2 separate regions of the Homo sapiens genome follow, and region 2 is linked to region 1. Evidence: promoter capture Hi-C in human tissues and cell types (Jung and others, 2019). All regions are on one chromosome and are shown on one strand. The core of a region is centred on a gene start or on the middle of the fragment in contact, and the rest is flanking DNA. Distances in the headings are between cores, read along the strand shown. Region 1 holds the start of BATF3 (basic leucine zipper ATF-like transcription factor 3). Region 2 overlaps SPATA45 (spermatogenesis associated 45).

The links. Contacts are between HindIII fragments. The study calls those that stand out against the background at their distance.
Region 2: a fragment that was not itself captured here is called in contact with the fragment with the promoter of BATF3 in region 1 in 1 of the 25 tissues and cell types used here (pancreas).

Annotation. Positions count from the first base shown.
Region 1 is chr1:212,698,372-212,701,510 of GRCh38, forward strand. BATF3 (basic leucine zipper ATF-like transcription factor 3) reads right to left here and starts at 1,469. Exons shown (of 3, transcript NM_018664.3): 1 at 1,302-1,469. The coding sequence starts at 1,391. RefSeq lists silencers at 767-1,216, 1,407-1,486. The HindIII fragment of the contact is 5,625 bases long and covers 1-3,139 here.
Region 2 is chr1:212,829,382-212,832,520 of GRCh38, forward strand. It overlaps SPATA45 (spermatogenesis associated 45), which reads right to left. Exons shown (of 3, transcript NM_001024601.3): 3 at 760-880. The coding sequence ends at 861. Among named protein-coding and RNA genes, the nearest start is that of SPATA45, 17 kb to the right of the region's middle. The HindIII fragment of the contact is 3,043 bases long and covers 12-3,054 here.

The DNA of each region.
Region 1 (3,139 bases), core at 219-2,718:
ATTCTTTCAATATGTATTAACTGAGCACCTACCATGTGCCAGACACTGTTCTAGACACTGGGGATACAAGCCCTAAACAAAGGGTCAGTGAACTCTGCAGACTTGGTGCTAACAGCCTAATGCTTAGGATTGGGATGCGATGAAATGAGATTTTGTCCTAAAGCTCCCAGCATACAGTATGCCCTCAAGAAGTTACCTGCCTTTGTTGAAGTTGCTACTTTAAAAAAAAATGTATTCTGCATAGTGCTTCTCATGCCTCTTTGCTCTCTGTAATCAAAAAGTCACTAGCACAAGAAAGCAGCCTGCATACTGCCCTCGGGGAGCTGACTCTAAACTGGACTCATCACCATGATCACACCTGCCAACCCAGCAGAAACATTTAATCAAGACAGAAAGAGGTGAGCGAAAGTTAGAGATAGTATTATGTTATTAACCATATCTGATTCAGTCTCAAAAATCCTGAGAGGTTGATGTTACTATATTCATTTTACAGATGGGGAAATGGACGGTCCGAGAGGTTAAACAAATTGCTCAAGGCTGCTCAGCCTGTGTGTGGCAAAGCCCAGGCCCAAACTCAGATCTCTGTGACACTCCAGCGACACCTGATGACATGGGCCGGGCGCTGAATTGGGAAGGTGGGGAGTAAGGATGAAAAGACCCAGTCTTCGTCGTAAGGCAGGTGGCCAAGACCCAGGCAAAGTTTCCAGACGGCCGTCCCTGTGGCCAACCTGGTCTCCTTCCTGACTGCGCCGCTGTAAACGTTGCTAGGGGACAGCGAACTGGGAAGGGGCAAAGGGTTTCCACCAGCTGGGGGCGGAGTCGGCCCTTTGTGGGTTCCCTCCGCCCAGGCTGACTAGTCCGGCGTTCTCCATTCCCGCGGCAGCACCCCCCCCACCCGGGGGAATCCTGGAGGGGCTACAGGCGCGGGTGGTGGGGTGGCAGTCGCTGGCTGCGCCAGGATGGGGCGGCCCTCAGGGCAGTGCGGAGCCCACGTGCCGGGGAGCACCGGCCATGCCCGGCCCAGCCAGGCGTCGGCGCCCTCGGGCTTCTTCCCCCAGAGGGCGCAGGAGCTGGCTCAGGAGCCATTCCAGGAGCCGCGGACACTGTGCGCACGACAGGGTCCCTGGATCGCCCCCATTCCCCAACATCCCTACGCCCCTACCTCTGCTTGTCTCCGGCCGCACCCGCCACCTCTGCACCTCCGCAGTCACCACCACGGAACTCCAGCACCCACCTCCTCGCCCCCCGCGGCGCGCCGGTCCCCGCACCCCACGGCCCTCCCTGAGCCTCTCGCCCTCTACCTGCTGCTGCGGCTGCGGCTGCGGCTGGTTCCCGGGCGCCGCGACGCTCCTCTGCAGGACGCTGCCGGCGGCCGGGAGCCCTTGCGACATGCCGGGCGCTCCTCTGGCCCGGCCCGCCCCGCCCCGCCCGCGCGCCCTGCCCGTGGGGCTGCCTACGGGCGCTGTCCCGCCGCCGGCATCCTCGTGCCGCACCCACGGCCTCGCGCCGGCCCCGCCCCCTCAGGCTTCCCGCTCTCCCCGCTACTCCACGCGTCGGCCCAGTGTCCCCGCGCGCCAGTCCCGGCAGCCGTCCTTCCCGTCCCACGTCTGCCCCGCCCTCCTTCTCCCACCCCCGCCTCGTTTCCTCCTCTGCCCGCCCTCTCTCCGCACCTCGGGGTCCCAAATCCCACCCCTGCCGCGGCTTTCCGCCGGCGCCCCGCGCTTCGTGGAAGTCACGTGGTGGCTCTGAAACCCCGGAGGGAACGCGAAGCCCACCCACGCGAGGCGACGCCCGGGGGGGTGGGGACCAGGGGGGCGCCATGCAGCCTTTGGGGTCCTTCGGCGGCTGCCGGGGAACTCAGGTTGAGAAACACAGTGGGTGTTTTGGGGTCGGTGTTTTTTCCCGGTCCCATCGCGGCATCTTCCTGCGCCTCAGCCACGCCCTGCGTCCGCCCCCCGGCGCGGGGGTCACAGTCCCGGGGGACTTTCTCCGCGGCGATCAGTCATCCGGGCGCCACTCTCGCTCCTCCAGCGGCCCCGAAGCCGCGGCTCTGGGGTGAAGACGCCGGCTTCACCGAGTCCCACCGCGCACCCCGAGCCACGGGCGCCCCAGGGACTCTGCAGGGAGTGCCTGCCCTTCCCGTCTCGGGTCCGCCGGGCTGTGGGAGGGAACGAGGCGGGGCGGCCCCGAGGGTGAATTCCCGGAGCGGAGGGTGGGCATGGGGAGGATGTCCCGGACAAAAACGGTGACGGGCTTCCCTGAGAGCGAATCTGCCACGTGGGACGTCACTAGTGACAGGTTTGGGGATCTGGACCCGCCATGCCACGGTTAAACGGCCCAGATCATTTTTCTTTTTCAAGATTTATCTGCTCGTGCCAAGCTGGGGACCGGGTTGAGGTAGGGCAAGTCCCTGTCCACCTGCCTGCCAGTCAAAAGATGCGAAGCCAAGACAATTACCCGTGGTCCTAGCGAAGGAAACACTAGCGGCCACAGGCTGTGGTCTGCATGCTGTGAGCACCGGGAAAGATAACCGCGATTCGGGATGGGCGGGTGGGAACCAGACCAGAAGGGCAGAAGTGCCTACCAAGTGTGGTCGCTTGGGTCTTCAGGTTTGTGGGCAGCAGTGGGCATGGGGACAGTCATTTCCGATTCCTTTTTAAGTCTTAAATGAGTGCACGTGCCCCCCGCCAGGATTTAAGACCCACTCTTGCAAAAGCTTTGAGAGAGCTTGAGTGAACTTGGCTGCCTGGAGGCCAGCGGGAAAGCGAGCGGAGATTCTTGTCTGTGTGATCAGAAGCTTCGGCCAACTGAGAGGCGGGGAGGAAGACGGAGGGTGGACGCAGCCCTTTAGAGTTGCAGCGCCACACTCCACAGCAGCAAGGCTGCGCAGCAGAGCCAGCGCTACGCTGGGTTATCTGCCCGGATTAATCTTTTCCTCTCCGTTATTTCATCACTCAGCTTAACTGGTGGTTGCCCCAGGACTATTTTGCATCCCACAAGGTACCCACACAAGGTGCCTAGCATAGCACGCTACATACACTCAACAGGTGCTCAGTATATGTATTGCACTAGGTCAGCTGAAAGCTCTCATTCCTGAAGCACTAAAAGGGCTCTAACGAGCTAGGAAAACATCTGGGTC
Region 2 (3,139 bases), core at 283-2,782, 130 kb after region 1:
TGATAGTAGCCAAATAGGATGTGGCCATGAGATAATTCTAACCATCACCACTGTGGGGATGGACAACGTAATGTAACAGAAAGCCCTGTCTACAGGCACCTTATATTAGCCTCTCAAATATCTCCTTATTCAAATAATCAAAACCATAACTTTAACAGAGGAAGTTAATCTATCATTTATAAGCAAGTGTTAACTTTTTAGCCTTCAACCTGATCAGTGGGGTTGGTCAATATATTCCATTGAGTTATAGAAACAAATATAAACTATTATTTAAACATTTTAGATTACTAAGGAGAAGATTGCCTGGGCATGGTGGCTCACACCTGTAATCCCAGCACTCTGGGATGCCAAGGCGAGTGGATCACCTGAGGTCAGGAGTTCAAGACCAGCCTGACCAACATGGTGAAATGTCATCTCTACTAAAAATACAAAAATTAGCTGGGTGTGGTGGCGTGCGCCTGTAGTCCCAGCTTCTCAGGAGGCTGAGACAGGAGAATAGCTTAAACCCAGGAGGTGGAGATTGCAGTGAGCTGAGATCATGCCACTGCATTCCAGCCCGGGGAACAGAGCAAGATTCTGTCTCAAAAAAAAAAAAAAAAAAAAGGGATCACTGTAAACTAAACTCTTAGGTATTCATGTTTGAAAGTAACTAAAAAACTCAAATCCTCTCTTCAAATCATCTAAGTTTAAATGATAGAATGGAATGAATAAAGATATGTTTTATGTGACTTAATGTTTTTTGAGGGATCTAGTGAATACTTTTGTTTAGCTTTGTTTATAATTAATAATTTGTAAATAATTTAGACACACTGAAGAAGAATCAAAGAGAATGTATTTCCGTGTGTCTCTGGAGATGCACTTTATCCAAATATGGCATTATCTGAAAAAATAAAAAATAAAAAGTATTTGTTATATAACTTATAACACATTTCATGGTTTTTAAAATAACCCTGGAGGGCAGAGTATTGTTTTTCAGATACAGGAACTAAGGTTTAGAAACACCAAATGGGCCGGGTGCGGTGGCTCACACCTGTAATCCCAGCACTTTGGGAAGCCGAGGTGGGCGGATCACGAGGTCAGGAGATCGAGACCATCCTGGCCAAGATGGTGAAACCCCATCTCTACTAAAAAAATACAAAAATTAGCCGGGCGTCGTGGCGCGCTCCTGTAGTCCCAGCTACTCAGGAGGCTGAGACAAGAGAATCGGTTGAACCCAGGAGGCGGAACGTGCAGTGAGCCGAGATCACACCACTGCACTCCAGCCTGGGCGAAAGAGCAAGACTCCGACTCCAAAAAAAAAAAAAGAAACACCAAATGGCGGCCAGGCGCTGTGGCTCACGCCTGTAATCCCAGCACTTTGAGAGACTGAGGTGGGCGGATCACGAGGTCAAGAGATGGAGACCATCCTGGCCAACATGTTGAAACCCCCATCTCTACTAAAAAGACAAAAATTAGCTGGGTGTGGTGGGATGCGCCTGTAGTCCTAGCTACTCAGGAGGCTGAGGCAGGAGAAATCAGTTGAACCCGGGAGGTGGAGGTTGCAGTGAGCCGAGATCGCAACACTGCATTCCAGCCTGGTGACAGAGCAAGAAAAAATCTCAAAAAAAATTAGCTGGGTGTGGTGGTGCACACCTGTAATCCCAGCTACTCTGGAGGCTGAGGCAGGAGAATCGCTTGAACCCCGGGCAGCAGAGGTTGCAGTGAGCCAAGATCGAGCCACTGCACTACAGCCTGTGACAAAGTGACAGAGTGAGACTCCGTCTCAATAAATTAAAAAAAAAAAAAGAAAGAAAGAAACACCAAATGGTTGGGCACGGTGGCTCACGCCTGTAATCCCAGCGCTTTGGGAGGCTGAGGCAGGCAGATTGCTTGAGGTCAAGAATTTGAGACCAACCTGGGCAACATGGCAAAATCCAGACTCTATTAAAAAAATACAAAAGTTAGCCAAGCATGGTGGCACATGCCTATAGTCCCAGCTACTCGGGAGGCTGAGAGGTAGGAGGATCGCTCGAGCCCAGGAGGTTGAGGATACAGTGAGCTATGATCACACCACTGCGCTCCAGCCCCAGTGACAGAGCAAGACTCTGCCTCTAAAAAAAAAAAAAAAAACCTCAAATTACTAAAAGCATGATACTAGTCAATGACAGAGGCAAAACTTGAACCCAGGTGTTTTTAATTCTATATATTTAAATAAACTGCCCCCCTTTTGGGCTCCACATCTCCAAGTGGAAGATTGAAAAGAGGGCCTGGAAATCTCGGACTAAGAGAACTTCTTTCCTAGTCTTCACGTCACTATTAATAGAAGCAAAGAGGATCACCCAGAACTCCAAATACTCTATGCAAAATCTGTAACATTACTTCCCCTCAACACACAGGCCTCCCCACCAGGTTAGACCACCGCTAGGTTCGACCATCAGGACTAATCTCATTCTGTCCCTTATCCCTGTTTACACTGGACTCCTCAAGGAACCCAGGAGTCCTGGGTCATCCCTCATGCCCTGGATAGTAATCCCCATATAGTTATATGGGCAGCAATACACCCTCCATCCAACACTTCCTATCCCCCACCCTGCTGTTTTCTGTTTCCCCATAGCTCTTACCCATTTATCACTATCTGATCGGACATTTACTTCCTTTTTTTTTTTTTTTTTTTTGAGACGGAGTTTCGCTCTTGTTGCCCAGGCTGTAGTGCAGTGGCGCGATCTCTGCTCACTGCAACCTCCTCCTCCCGGATTCCAGTGATTCTTCTGCCTCAGCCTCCAGAGTAGCTAGGATTACAGGCATGCACCACCATGCCCAGCTAATTTTTGTGGGGTTTCACCATGTTGGTCAGGCTGGTCTCGAACTCCTGACCTCAGGTGATCCACTCGCCTCGGCCTCCCAAAATGCTGGGATTACAGGCGTGAGCCACTGTGCCCGGCTGAAATGTACTATTTTTTAACTTGTTTATCTGGCTCTCTACCCAGTGAAATCTAAGCTTTTTTTTTTTTTTTTTTTTTTTTTTAGAAATAGAGAAGAGGTCTCTCTATGTTGCCCAGGCTACTCTCAAACTCCTGGGCTCAAGGGATCCTCCTGCCTCAGCCTACCAAAGTGCTAGGATTACAGGCATGAGCCAGCACACCAAAACCTAAGCTTTTTG